3 separate regions of the Homo sapiens genome follow, and regions 2 and 3 are each linked to region 1. The links are contacts of gene promoters, found by promoter capture Hi-C in blood cells and fetal thymus (Javierre and others, 2016). All regions are on one chromosome and are shown on one strand. The core of a region is centred on a gene start or on the middle of the fragment in contact, and the rest is flanking DNA. Distances in the headings are between cores, read along the strand shown.

The links. Contacts are between HindIII fragments. The CHiCAGO score rates a contact against its expected background, and 5 or more counts as called.
Region 2: a contact is called between a fragment that was not itself captured here and the fragment with the promoter of TMEM132B in region 1, in 7 of 17 cell types (M0 macrophages, M1 macrophages, monocytes and 4 more). The highest score is 16.6, in M0 macrophages.
Region 3: a fragment that was not itself captured here is called in contact with the fragment with the promoter of TMEM132B in region 1 in 1 of 17 cell types (monocytes); the score reaches 5.0 in monocytes.

Annotation. Positions count from the first base shown.
Region 1 is chr12:125,183,880-125,188,842 of GRCh38, reverse strand. It overlaps TMEM132B (transmembrane protein 132B), which reads right to left and starts at 2,457. Exons shown (of 9, transcript NM_001366854.1): 1 at 1,977-2,457. The coding sequence starts at 2,043. RefSeq lists a silencer at 2,465-2,674 and an enhancer at 2,723-3,256. The HindIII fragment of the contact is 2,339 bases long and covers 1,145-3,483 here.
Region 2 is chr12:125,407,398-125,412,360 of GRCh38, reverse strand. The region is part of intron 2 of TMEM132B (transmembrane protein 132B); the gene reads right to left. Among named protein-coding and RNA genes, the nearest start is that of TMEM132B, 220 kb to the right of the region's middle. RefSeq lists a silencer at 3,534-3,722. The HindIII fragment of the contact is 5,834 bases long and covers 1-4,963 here.
Region 3 is chr12:125,335,441-125,340,403 of GRCh38, reverse strand. All of the region lies in intron 1 of TMEM132B (transmembrane protein 132B), which reads right to left. Among named protein-coding and RNA genes, the nearest start is that of TMEM132B, 150 kb to the right of the region's middle. The HindIII fragment of the contact is 7,254 bases long and covers 1-4,963 here.

The DNA of each region.
Region 1 (4,963 bases), core at 1,208-3,707:
CTAACTAGTGCTAAATATAGAGTTATCAAACTGTCGTCTCTTTATGTCCCTGGTAGGGACCAGTTAAAGACTTGCATGTGCTTCCAGGGACGGGGCGATGGCACTGGGGGCTCTGCCCGGACGGCATTTGTCGGAACGAGCTGCCCTGCTGAGACTCTCCCAAAGAACAGCAGGGGAGCAGGCAAAGAGCCGGCCAGCAGCAGGTTTCAGTGGGAGCTCACCTTCCCTCCCAACATGGGGCCTTCCAGAGCCAGGCACAGGCTCTTCTGTTGCTGGGGGAGAGGGCGGGGGACGGGGGTGGGGGGGTGGTAGGGGGACCATCCTATTCTCTTACAAAGCATTATGCAGGCAGCTTCTCTGAGAGACTTCCGATATTCACTTATAAGCACATCCAGGCAAATGCTGACCCCCGTGGAGAAACAAAATAGAGACAAAACTGCAATTTTCAAGTCCGAGGGACTGCACTTTTGCAAACAGGTCCCAGGGCTTCAGCTAAGAGAAAACAGCCTCGGCCCCAGCAGCAGCCCCTCTCGTGGACCGCAGAGGAATGCCGAAAGCAAAACAGCTATCATAGCTGCTCCTTAGCCAAGCAGGCAAGATTCATCCACGTTAAGCCCAATGCCATTCTCTAGGCTGAACCAAAGCCGAACGCTGACGGAGATCTCCAATAGAAGGTTTTCTTCAAGTCGAAGGTGTTGGTAAATATTTTGGGTCACTTAAGGGCATCTCAAAGGAAGCCGACACTGACTTTTTCCATGCAAATAAAATACATCGAACATCAAGTTGACATGCCAGGTTTGCTCCTAACTGCAACCTTACCAAGACAGTGAAAGCCGAAAAGTTATAGTTGTATTTTTCTACTGCATTCTGCCTGTCTGTGCGATTTGTTTGTTAAGGAAATGGGGAGAGATTTTCTAAAGCAAAAGCTACCTGTTCCCAAATCATGGGTCTTGATTTTAAAAGGTTTGGAGAACTGAGATTTCAAAAGCACATGAAGGCTGCTCGTGACTGTTCCCGGGGTTCATCTGAGCCTTTAGGATTTTCTCCACTGCTTGCATGGGGTGGGGGGAGGGGAGGAATTGTCATTTTAGGATACGCTTTCTATAGAACCAACATGTAGCCACACCAAGGTGGGTAGAAAGCTTTCCAAACTCCAGCGAAGACAGACAATACCTGACTATTTTGCTTTTCCCACTCACTAGGATTGGGCGACAGCTGAGCTGGTTCAGCAGGGAGTCCAGCTCCCCGGTGCCCAGGCAATGGCTCTGGACAGCACCGCGTTCCAGGCTCCCCGGCGCGTCCTGGACTGCTTGGCCGCGGCTACCCTCTCCCGCCCGCCTTGGGGTCAGGGCGCTGGAGTAGACCGCGTTTGCAGGAGGCGCGCAGCGGGCTGCTCTTTGGCCAAGAGGAGGCCATTTGGCGAGGGTGGGTAGCTTGGGGAGGGCAGTGTGAAAGCAGGGGAGGGCCGCGGGGCGTGGGGAGGGGCTGCGGACAAGCCAGACAGCGCCGGCCGAGACATCTCCGGGGCCCGCAGGTGTCCCGGGAACGCACCACTGTGCGACCGCGGGCAGCAAGACACTGGAGAAGGGCTGCGTCGACGCCCCCGCCCAGCAAAACCCCTGGAGGAACTGGGACCTGGGGGGGATTTGGCCCAAGGCAGGGCGGGGAGGGGGCTCGATTCCTGCAGTCGCGTCCCCACCCGCCTCGAGAGGCTGAGTGCCCCGGTCTGTGGCCCCCGTGCGTCCCGAAAGGATCCGCAAGGAAGCTAAGGGTTTGGGGGAGAAGGCAGGCGGGCTCTCCCCAGGCGCTAGGCAAAGGGGAACGCGCCGGGGGCTCCTGGGTTCCCAGGGTCTCCCCAGGTCTGTCCAAGTCCGGGAGATGCGCGCTGCCAGGGACTTGAGAAGGAGGTAGCCGCCCGTTCACCCAACTTTGTGCGCCTCGGCCGGGGTCGGGGATGGGGTCCGGGGACGCGTTACCTGGGCACTGGAGCGCAGTCAGCGCCAGCAGGAGCCCGAGCGGCGGCGCCCGGCCCGGGGGCGGCATGGTCCTCGGCGCGCGGTGGGTGCGGCGCGGGGCTGCTCCTCTCGCGCGCCCGGCCCGGCCCGCGGCTCCCGGAGCAGCCCCCGGCGGCTACGCCCGGGCGCCGGGCATGGCTCGCTCCCAGCGCGCCGCTCCTCCCCAGACGCATGCGCCGGCGCTGGCGGCGCTTCCTCGGCTGCGCCTCTGCGCGCTCTCCTGGGCTCGGCCGTGCGTGGCTGGGGAGCTGGGGCGGCCGAGGCTCAGCGCCCCGCGCCCTGGCCGGCTGCCCCGCAGTTGGCCCGAGTTGCGCGGCCCCCGCCGCCGCCGCCGCCGCGGCTCCTGCGCCCCAGCGCCCGTCCCATCCCGGTCGCGCCGCCGCCGCCGCCGCCGCCTCTGCCATCGCCATCTGCCGGCCGCCCCTCGAGCCAGCGAGAGAGTGAGCGAGCGAGCGAGCGCCGGGGGGAGGAGGAGGAGGAGGAGGAGTAGGAGGAGGAGGAGGAGGAGAGGAGCGGAGGGCGGGGCCGCGGCCGGGGGAGGGGCCGCCCGGGAGCCGGGGCACAGGCGGCAGCCCGGCCAGTAGGCGGCGGGACGCGCCACTGCTCGGCGGTTCGGGGGAGGGCGCCCGGCCGGGAGGCTCCGGGAGCCCGCCGGGGGTCGCGGGCGCTCGCGGGTACAGGGGCTGCGGGAGGGGTGCGCAATGCAGAGAGGGGATGCCCAGCTAGATCCGGCGTCTTGGGGCGCAGCGGTAGGAGTTGCCAAGGTCGAGGGGTGAGGAGGCCAGCGGAGGGTCACCGGGATGGGGCAGCGACCTCTGGAGAGGTGGTGTCTGCCGGGGCCAGAGACTGCAAGACTGAGCGCGGACAGGAGGTCCCGGGTTAAATGTGGCACAGCTAGGGAGTGCCTGTGGGAGAGGGGAGAGGAGAGAGGGGAGGGCCTCCGGGAGGCCGAGGCTGTGTGCAGAGCCTCTGCACGGCACCGGGATGGGGGCTAGGGGTGCGCAGGCTGGGTGCGGTGACCTGAAACACAGCGAAGGCGGCCTGGGGATGGCCACCCGGGTGAGGCAGGGTCCCTTATTTACCCAGGCTAGAGGATGCGCCTTCCCATTTCGCGCAGGCCCTAGGAGCACGCGGAGGCAGCCAGGAGTTCTCCTGGGAAGGGCAGATTCCCTGGCGGTCCCGGGAATGAGTTCCCAGCGCAGGGTCAGGCAGTGACGGAGCGGAGGTGTTGCGCAGGGCCGGGTACTAGGTGGTCGAATTCTTCCATCCAGGGGCAGGGACGCAGCCAGAGTGCGGAGGGAGGTCACAGGTCACACGGAGCCCCAGTACCTATTATCCCAGAAACCACTGATCCTCCTGGGCGCCCCACCCCCAACCAGGGCAAAGCCACGGGGGGCTAAGCCGAATGAATGAGTCATGCTGGGAGCATGTGGGGGAGCCTCCAGCAGCGCTCAGATGCCTTCAAGCTTCCCCACCACGCTGGGAGGACAGGGGATATGGGGGGTTGCCCACCTGGGAGGGTGGCTTGGAGTCCTGGCTCCGCCCCAGCCCCCACCACACCAGCCACTTGCTCTGCCATCTCAGTTTTCCATGAAAAAGTGGGTCAAACTCTTTGAAAATGGTCAATAAGGCAGCGTGGGGTGATGAAAAGACAGATTTGGGGAAGGCTCTGGAGTCATGGAGTCTTGGCTGAGAATCCCAGCTCTGCCGCTCCTTAGCTGTGCAAGCTGGGGCGAGTCCCTTATTCCTCCCTGAGCCTCAGTTTTCTCATCTGAGAGATGGAAGGCATTGCACATCACCTGGTGTCCCCAATAACACATACAAAGCCCCTGACCTAGGAAGTCGGAACTCATTTAAAGGAGTCAGTGTCAACATTATCATTCTCATCATCATGGCCATTATTATGATAGATCTGATTTTCCTCTGCGGGCCCAGAGCTCACATCAGAAGGACAATCCTCCCCACTCCCGGCTGCCAAGAGGGGATGGGGGACAGGGCACCTGCTTGATTAGTACAGACAAGCTCATTAGCAGAGGCAGCACTCAGTTCTTCCTAGATAAAAGAAGGAAGAAAGCCAGGGGCAGGTGGTGAGTCTCCAGCCCAGGTTAATTAGGAGACGTAAAGGGATTTTCCCGTGGCTGTTAATCGGCTTCCTTTACAAGGGGCCCATGCCCAGGCCAAGCCCCCTTTGGGCTCCCTGGCAAGGCCTGCAATGTGTGGAGAGCCATACAACAGGCTGGACGACGGGATTGGGGGTCTCCTCGGGCTTAGGGTGGCCTTGCGAGGGGCCCATCTGTCCCCTTTCTGTGACCCTTTCCCCAGATAAGAGGATGATCCTGGAGACGTGGTCAGGACTCTCTTAGGGTCCTCTGTGCCCGGCTGCCCCCAACACCTCTTTCCTGTTCACTTGTTCATAAGCATCTGCAGAGCTGAGCACCTACTGTGTGCCGGCCTCTGCAGGGGATGGTGAAGCAGAAATGAATGGACGACAGCAGGGGAGAGCCACAGCAGGAGTGACCGCGGGGTGCTGGTGCCAAGGTGAACCGTGTGTTTGACCAGGAAGCAGGTCAGTGAGGCTGGGAGACTGTGGCCAAAGATAAAAGTCATTTTCTGGCAGGGTAAGGGGTCATTCTGTGGCTTTAGTGGCGGTGCTTGGAGAGGGTTGTGAATCAGTCCAGCAAGTCCCCAAGCCAGTGGTCACACAGTCCCAGGTGTGATGGCAGATGGCAGTTGCCTTCCCCCCAACCCCACACTCAGGACTACCTGGTCATACTCCAAGAAAGCACCTTTCAGTGGGGAAGGGCACTTCCCCATTAAAATATGCTGATGGTGGTTGAGCCAGACGCTGAAGAGAGGAATCTCCTTTTGAGGGTAGCTTTTCCATGCCCCAGCTGTGTGACTCTGGACAAGCCCCTAATCCTCTCTGAGCTCATACGTGGGGTAGGGAT
Region 2 (4,963 bases), core at 1,149-3,648, 220 kb before region 1:
CCTTAATTGAGCCCTCATTGCCAGGCCCCTCTCCCTTCAGTCTTAGAGATACAACACGTACCCACGGAGGGTTCTTCTGTGAGATTTTTGTTCCTTCTTTTATTCTGACCCAAAACTAAGACACAGGTCCCCTCGTCCTCAGGGGCTTCCTCATTCATCAGCTCTGAATTGATTCATGGGACTCCGTGCACGATGCTTCTTCCACTGGGGCTTCTAGCCTCTGGTTTATCCCGACAGAGACTCTCACAGTGGGCAAACGCTTCCTCAGAGTCTGAGAAGCAGAGGGTCCAGTGCGGGGAGACAGTCCAAATCTTCCATAGAGCATTTCCTAGCACGGGGGGTGCCGTGGCAGGGGCTGAGGAAACACAGTGCTTGCTGGTCCTAAACAGGTCCAGGGGACCCAAGGAAGGCAGGGAGGCAGGACTTGAGACAAGTTGACCATTAGCCAACAAATGTCAACATTTTGAAATATTTTGTCAACCAGCACAGCCTTCCCAGCACCTGCAGGCTGCACATCAGGACCATCGGACTGCTTCCCCTTAGTGAAGTTATTACATTTGAAGACAAGCAGAGGAAAGACCAAGGTGGCCCCTCCGGGTTGCCGTCTGGGTGGGATGATCGGCCCCATGACACCACAAACGCATTTCTAGCTAATTGCTGCTAAGCTCTCAAGACAGCAACCAACCCTTTACCTTCCCCCGGTCAACTGGAGCCCAGATGACAGCCCATCCTAGCAGCCATCCATTTACTTTCCTTCCCAGAGGCAGGGAACCCCTCACACGTACCCTAGAGGTTTGGCCAACTGGGCATCTCCGGTTTTTATTTTTGTTTGTTTGTTTTTATTATTATTATACTTTAAGTTCTGGGGTACATGTGCTGAACGTGCAGGTTTGTTACATAGGTATACCCATGCCATGGTGGTTTGCTGCACCCATCAACCTGTCATCTACATTAGGTATTTCTCCTAATGCTCTCCCTCCCCTAGGCCCCCCCCCACCCTCTGACAGGCCCCAGTGTGTGATGTTCCCCTCCCTATGCCCATGTATTCACATTGTTCATCTCCCACTTACGAGTGAGAACACGCGGTGTTTGGTTTTCTGTTCTTGTGTGGGCATCTCTACTTTGTCCCCTGTCTCAGTTTCACTCCCTGACCACTCCACTCCACTCCACTCCTCCACTCACTCCACTCCACTCCACTCCACTCCTCCACTCCACTCACTCCACTCCACTCACTCCACTCCACTCCACTCCACTCACTCCACTCCACTCCTCCACTCCACTCCACTCACTCCACTCACTCCACTCCACTCCACTCCACTCCACTCACTCCACTCCACTCACTCCACTCCACTCACTCCACTCCACTCCACTCACTCCACTCCACTCACTCCACTCCACTCCACTCCACTCCACTCCTCCACTCCACTCACTCCACTCCACTCCACTCACTCCACTCCACTCACTCACTCCACTCCACTCCACTCACTCCACTCCACTCCACTCCTCCACTCCACTCCACTCCACTCACTCCACTCCACTCCACTCACTCCACTCCACTCACTCCACTCCACTCCACTCACTCCACTCCACTCACTCCTCCACTCCACTCACTCCACTCCACTCCACTCCACTCACTCACTCCACTCCACTCCACTCCACTCCACTCCACTCACTCCACTCCACTCCTCCACTCCACTCCACTCACTCCACTCCACTCCACTCACTCCACTCCACTCCACTCACTCCACTCCACTCACTCCACTCCACTCACTCCACTCCACTCCACTCCTCCACTCCACTCCACTCCACTCACTCCACTCCACTCCTCCACTCCACTCCACTCCACTCACTCCACTCCACTCCACTCCTCCACTCCACTCACTCCACTCACTCCACTCCACTCCACTCCACTCCACTCACTCCACTCCTCCACTCCACTCCACTCACTCCACTCCACTCACTCCACTCCACTCCACTCACTCCACTCCACTCCACTCCACTCACTCCACTCCACTCCACTCACTCCACTCCACTCCACTCCACTCACTCCACTCCACTCCACTCCACTCACTCCACTCCACTCCTCCACTCCACTCCACTCCACTCACTCCACTCCACTCCACTCCTCCACTCCACTCCACTCCACTCCTCCACTCCACTCCACTCCACTCCTCCACTCCACTCCACTCCTCCACTCCACTCCACTCCTCCACTCCACTCCACTCCACTCCTCCACTCCACTCCACTCCTCCACTCCACTCCACTCCACTCCACTCCACTCCTCCACTCCACTCACTCCACTCCACTCCACTCACTCCACTCCACTCCACTCCTCCACTCCACTCCACTCCTCCACTCCACTCCACTCCACTCCTCCACTCCACTCCACTCCACTCCTCCACTCCACTCCACTCCACTCCTCCACTCCACTCCACTCACTCACTCCACTCCACTCCACTCCACTCACTCCACTCCACTCCACTCACTCCACTCCACTCCACTCCTCCACTCCACTCCTCCACTCCACTCCACTCCACTCCTCCACTCCACTCCACTCCACTCCTCCACTCCACTCCACTCCTCCACTCCACTCACTCACTCCACTCCACTCACTCCACTCCACTCCACTCCACTCACTCCACTCCACTCACTCCACTCCACTCCACTCCTCCACTCCACTCCACTCCACTCCACTCACTCCACTCCACTCCACTCCACTCCTCCACTCCACTCCACTCCTCCACTCCACTCCACTCCACTCCTCCACTCCACTCCACTCCACTCCACTCACTCCACTCCACTGTCCACAGCCAAGCACCCCACTTGGCACTGAGGCTTGGGACACAATTATTTTTCTCGCTCGCCTCAGTCTTCCCACCCCTCTTAGGAGTGTTGCCCCCCCTCAATCAGCTCCTGTGCACACCACAAGCACTGCCGCCGGATGCCTCCTCACGGGACAGGGCTCCTCGGGTTCCAGTAGCCTCCAGGATCACAGTGAAGCCACACCCAAGAGGGTCCCTTGCTGCATTTGCAATTTGGAAAATAAGGGGATCCATAAATTCCAGTGTGGTTGATTTCCAGGACACGAGGAAGTCTCCAGAAACCAGATGCCTATCTCAGTCCCTCTTCCCTTGTGGCTGGCTCAGCAGGCATTCTAGGGCCCAGCAACTCTCCAAAGAGTGGACTTTCAAGCTGCAAAAGTGCCCTCAAAACTGCAGTAAAGGCAGCAGGCTTCTACACAAACTGAGGAGAGTACCTGTGAGCACATAAGTCCCAAAGTAATTCTCTCCATAACAGTTGAAGCCAAGACAGGGTTGATGCACTCCAGGACTGTCTTTGTCTTGACTTTTCAATTATTATTATTATTAGTTATCATTATCACTATTATTATTAACAATCCACTCTGGTGTATCCCCTTGTGCAGTACAAAAGTCAAAACACTTACTCAGCAGAATGGCTAAACTGAAAAGAGAGAAAAAAGCAAATGGTGGCCTGGTCATGGAGTGACTGGGACTCGTGAACATTGCTGGAATGAGTGTAATTTGGTTCAACCTCTTTGGAAAGCTATTTGGTGATAACTACAAAGCCTGAATTTCCGTAGACCCTGTAACAGCATTGCCACTCCTCGGTTTATGCCCAACAGAAACACATGCACCTGTTCCCCAAGACACACATACAAGAAGGTGCACGACAGCCCTGCCATCAGCCCAAAATGGAAACAACCCAAAATGCTCATTGCCTTAATCTGTTCGGGACAGTCTAACAAAATACCACAAACTTGGAGGCTTATAAACAACAGAAATTTATTTCTCACAGTTCTGGAGGCTGAAGTCCAAGAGCAAGATGTCAGCAGTTTCAGTGCCGGGTGAGAGCTTGCTTTTTTATAGATGCGGCTGTCATGCTGTGTCCTCGCATGGTGGAAGGGGTGACAGAGCACCCTCAAACCTCTTTTATAAGGGCATTAATCCCATTCCTTTAGGGAGATGACCTAATCTCCCAAAAGGCCCCACCTCCTAATAACTCTGCCTTGGGGATAAGAATTTCAACATGCGAATTTGTGGGGGATACAGACGTTCAGACCCTAGCACCCATTGACAACGGAACTGGTAAAGCGTAACATCTCACAGTGGAACACTATACAGCAGTAACGAGGAAGCAGCCTATCACCACACAACAACACAGCGACCCTCCAAATACACAGCTGAGTGGAAGAAGCCAGGTACCAAAAGCGCGCACTGTGCAATTCCGTTCGTGGAAAGTCAGAAGCAGGCACACAGATCTCCGAGGTGAAAGCCTGCACAGTGGCCGCCCTGTGGTAGAGGCAGTCACTGAGTGGAGTCCTGCTGGGCTTCTGGGGACCCTGCCATGCTCTGTCTCTCCTTCTGCATGCCGATTACTTGGTGGTTGTGAGAACTCATCAGTCTGTGCTCGCTTATGTGGACTCTTCTGCATGTAGGTTACAGTTCAATATGAAGTTCAAAACAGAGCAAGTGCATTGTAACAGGGACGTAAGTCAGAGCCAGGAGGACATGGTGGCTCCACCACTGCCCACGTTCACTGGTAGGTCTCCAGGTGAACCCAAATGTCACCACCCCAGACACACAGAGGCGTTTCTCCCCCAGACCTCCACCAGGTGTCCGCGGTCCCTTTGGTTCTGAGCGACAAGAGTGACCTGAGCTTTGGCCTTGTCTGTGATGGAGGACTGGATGCTGGAAAGAGTCTGAGTCCAGATGAGCATCCCTCCTGGTTGGACCAGGGAGAGAGACATTCTAGCTGCTGTAGATAAGTCAAAAGAAAGACAACTGGACTCCAGGCCAGCCTCTACCCAGCAGGGACAGACAGACAGGGCACGGGGTCACACCTTCTCCATCTCACTCCCCATATGTCTTTCCCAGCCCATAGCATCCACCACCTAGCTGGGCAAAAGGAAACCTGCTCTGTGAGTACACACCTGCATCTTTCT
Region 3 (4,963 bases), core at 1,798-4,297, 150 kb before region 1:
TGAATCTATCTGAAATCTCTGCTGGTGTATAATGTGAAGTGAGAATCTGATAAAGTTGAAAATTAGCACGCACTGAATTCAGACAATAGAAAGATTTTATTTGACTTCGCAGTTTGAGTTTATTTTAATTGAATTCGAATGCTTTGTGTCAGGGTGCGCACACATTTTTCGCTATTCTCTAATTCACTAACACCCACTTACACCTACTCTTTTCATTCATTTCTGGTATGTGCCTCAGCCTTGATCTTAGAAATTGCTTTCCCAAATAGCTAGCCACTTTCTCCAAACTGTGTTTGTATAATTTCTCTCTCTGCCAATGATTTCTAATGCTTCCTGATTATGTTGTTAAGACCTGAAACATCCTCAAGTCTACTTGTGATTTACTTATTTAACTTCTTTGCTGTGTGACTACACTCATATGAATACATTGTAGCTGAAATTAATGTGGATTTACAATACAGTTTATTATGTAGGAGTGTTATGGACTGAAGTGTACCTCCTCCCAAATTCATACGTTCAAGTCCTAACCCTTGGCACCTCAGAATGTGACTGTATTTTGGGACAGGGTCTTTCAAGAGGCAATATAGCTAAAATAAGGCCATTGGGGGGTGCAAATATTTTTATCCCACGCTGTAGCTAGCTCCTCTGTCTTCTTGCACTGCGTTCTCAGCGTGTAACTTTGCTCCTCCTGGCTACACAGTGGCTGCTCTATCTCCATCCCTCTCAGGACACACCACCAACACCCACACTTGGATGCCTGACATTTCTCTGGAAGGTTAATTGTCCTTAGAGAGCAGTTGCCTTTTTGAAGAGCTACTGGGGAGAAGTACCAAGCATTCTGCCTTTTACTGAGGATGGGGGCATTGGAAGGAGGTCTGCCTGGAGTGGGTGTTCCATCGTCAGAATTTAGTTACTCCTCTTGCTTGCAGCCCTTTTCATGCTGTCCTTGCTCTATTTGCCAACATGTGGTCAAGAGCCCCCAGTTCAATTGGACTGGCGTCCTCATAAGATGAGGAAATTAGAACGGACACACACAGGGAAGACCATGTGGTGGCATAGAAGGCAGGCGGCCATCTACAAGCCAAGAGAGGCCTCAGAAGAAAACAAACCTGCTGGCACCTTGGTCTTGGACTTCCAGCCTCCAGAATTGTGAGAAAATAAATTTCTGCTGTTTAAGTGGCCCAATATGTGGTACTTTGTTATGGCAGCCCTAGCAAATTCATACAGAGGCATTATTGTTCTTTATCAAAATCCTATTAGCTAGACTTCCCTGCTTTCCACCTTCCAAGTTAACTTTAGAATCATATGGTCAAGTTGCCCATGTCAAAACTCAAATGGACTGTTAGCTGGAGGTGAGGATCTACACATTGAGAGTGTGGATGCCTTTCAACTTCCTGCCATATTTTTCTACGTATTTTCAAGTTTTCTAGAATGAACATGTGCTGCTTATTCAATCTAAGAGAAATATTGACATTCTTCCTTCAAAAAGAAGGATACGGAATTTACTTTTAAGTAGCAGACTGAGCACACTTATTCCCTCCATCTCCACAGAAACCCAAATGAAATAAAAGCATGAAAGTACAAAAAGGAAAAAACCTATTATCAAGAGAAATGGAGGGAGGATATCTGCAAATAAAATACTTCAACAAATTTAAGAAAGAGAATAAGCGGATAAAAGTGTGCTGATGGGCAGGACAGCAGAGGAAACCTCAGACCAGAACATTCTACATGTGCTGCCAAGGATCAAGGGGCTACTCTGCCCACTGGAGCCCAGAGGGGCTCCTGGCTACCTGCTGGCATGTACAGTAAGGACAGGTGTGAAATTAGAGCCGCAAAAAAGGAGAGTAACAGATTCTGAAGATGAGACACCCACTCCAGGCAGACCTCCTTCCAGTGCCCCCATCCTCAGGAAAAACCAGAATGCTTCATACTTCTCCCCAGTAGCTCTTCAAAAGGCAACTCCTCGACACTGAGTTAACCCTCCAGAGAAATGTCAGGCATCCAAGTGTGGGTGTTGGTGCTGCGTCCTGAGAGGGATGGTGACAGAGCAGCCACTGTGCAACCAGGAGGAACAAAGGTACACGCTGAGGACACAATGTGAGAAGACAAGAGAGCTGGTCACAGCATGGGATCAAAGAAAAAATAAGATCAAATCCTACTCGCCTAAGCCACTGTGGCCAGGGCTTCTGTTACTTGCAGCCAAACACAATCCTAAATAATAAGAAAAGAGAAGTACATGGCAGAGTGCCTGGCCCAAAGTAAGTAGGAAATAAATGTGTGTTGAAAGAATAAATGAATAAATGGAATAAAGTTGATATTTTTAATGCAAATAAGTAAAAACAATTAAAATGTGAAAAAGGGAAGAAGGTGTGTACATTAGCTAAATCCTCATCTTTTATAGAGAGAGCGCTGCTGTCTACATTTATTAACTCAAGAAGTCAAGGTAGATGAATAATTATAGAAGTCATCACCAGAAGAACTAAAACCAGAAATGGCTAGAAGTGGCGGACTTTGGGGAAGGAGATCAAGGATATAGAGGAATGGAAGACTATGGCCATTCTTTCAAAGTTATTCTGTACCATTTTAATTTCGCCATCTGCATGTATGACTTTGAGGATGAGAAGCCTTTGTGTGCAGGAGCCCAAACCTAGCCAAACAGGGGAAAATAGCATAGAACAGAATACCGGAAATTTGAGTATATGGATGAGGGGAGAACACCCTTAATCTAGATAACAAGACATTATTGGGCCTGTGGGTGAGATGGCCACCTGTCAAGGAGAGGAAAATCAAAAACTTCCTCGTCGACCGTATTGCATATGGCTGCTCAGGCAGGGACTTTCCCAGCCTCTCCTGTATCCACGTATGGCCACAAGACTTCTTCTTGAAAGAGAAGCAGGAGTGTCACATATCACATTAAAGCCAAAACAGGTAACTTTTACCTTCCACCAGTGAGAAGCAGGAAACACTGAAGCCCTAGGGCATGACAAAGCCATCACCTGGAAGGAGCCCCGGCCCTGGAACCTCCACGCGAGGAAAGCTGCCTGCCAAATGTGAACACCCACACTAGATGTGAGCAGGAAGCAATCTTTTATTGTGTTAAGCCACGCCTAGGAGTTTATTTGTCACAGCAGCTAGTGACAACCAAATAAACCAACATGGTATAGGCTTACGATTTGGACAGCAGTGGTCCCATCCCTACTAAAAAGTGGAAACAAATGGCATAGCACTTCCTTATGTAAACTGTGTTTTTGTGAGCAAGGAGGAGATAAAGACACTCAGAGAAACAAAAGTGAAGAGCTGTTCAGCCAACATGAGAGATTTCCATGCCATGCCAGATGCAGGGGGAGCATTATTAAATGGATTATATAGATTGCTTAGTGACAGTAATTTTGACCTCCTATAGGTACCACCAGCTGTTAAACAGTAGGAAATTTTGATGACCTTGTTATAATTTCCATTTATATTTATTCTAAATTGGACACCTTGGAGACTGTTTAAATAAGAGAGGAAAATTCACTGAGTAATCTTGACAGCTCTGCCACTGTGTGATTGGGAAGCAGCTGAGGCTTACAAAAGGCAGACAGACACCTGGGCTGGAGCCCCGGGTCTGCCATCAGTTGGATTTATGTACCAAGGCAAGTCACTTCATCCTCCCATTCGATTTCCCTCTGTGTCAAATGGGGTGTCACCTGCTGCCAGGTGCATCAGGGACACACCATGAGGTAACCCAGTGGCGTGACTTGTTATCGTGCAACTGCATGTATAGGAATGTCACAGGTGGTGCCTCTGCGGACTTCTCACTGATTCAGACTTGTTTCTCCTTCATCTGTTCATTACTGAAATCGAAAATGATTCTTTCATTTCCCAGAATGAAATGAAAGAATGCAAACCATGTAAGTCTAAACAAAATTGGAATTTAAGGTCAGTCATAGCTGGCATAGGCTGGCTTCAGGTCTGGCTGGATCCAGCAGTGAAGCAGTGTCATCACTGTGCATCTTCACAAATGTCATTTGAGGGAATGGTTAAAGAAGCCTCGGTACCTGTGTTGGGTGGAACACTACTCGGCAGTAAAGAGGAGCAAATGATGGACAGGCAGCATCATGGATAAGTCCCAAATACATCATGCTGAGTGAAAGAAGGCAACCTCAGAAAGCCACATGCTGTCCAAGTGCACTTACATAACACTCTAGAAAAATTGAACCAGAGGGATGAAGAACACATCGGTGACTGCCGGACAGAAGGGGCTGGAAAGAGTTTGACTACAAAAATTTTAAACAAGGGAATTGGAAGAGGGGTGATGGAGCTCTTCTGTGTCCTGACCGTGCCGATGCTTACACAACTCCATGCATTTGCCAAAAACTTAACAGCGCTCCATACCAAAAAGGGTGAAATGTACTGAAAATAATTTTTTTCCTTTGAGGGGGAGTCTTGCTCTGTCGCCCAGGCTGGAGTGCAGTGGCGCAATCTTGGCTCACTGCCACCTCCCCCTCCCAGATTCAAGCGATTCTCCTTCCTCAGCCTCCCAAGTAGCTGGGATTACAGGCATCTGCCACCACACCTGGCTAATGTTTGTATTTTTAGTAGAGACAGGGTTTTGCCATGTTAGCCAGGCTGGTCCTGAACTCCTGATCTCAAGTGATCCTCTCACCTCAGCTGCCCAAAGTGCTGGGATTACAGGCATGAGCCACCATGCCTGGCCAAAAATAAATTTTAAAGTAATTTTTTAAGATGCATTTTCCCCCATCACCCTGCTCTGTCTTCTACAAAGCTGACTTTATTCTCCATGTCACGGTGAGATCAGCATTTTCAAGTTTCACATTCTCCTTCTAAAATCCAATGAGAACTAGTGGAAGTCTATTTGTCAAAATTACAGGAGAAACCCTCAGTGCATCTCACTGTCTATGATAGGGCATTTGCCCATCCCTGAACAAATCACTGTGGCCAGGGGGATGCCTGTTCTTAT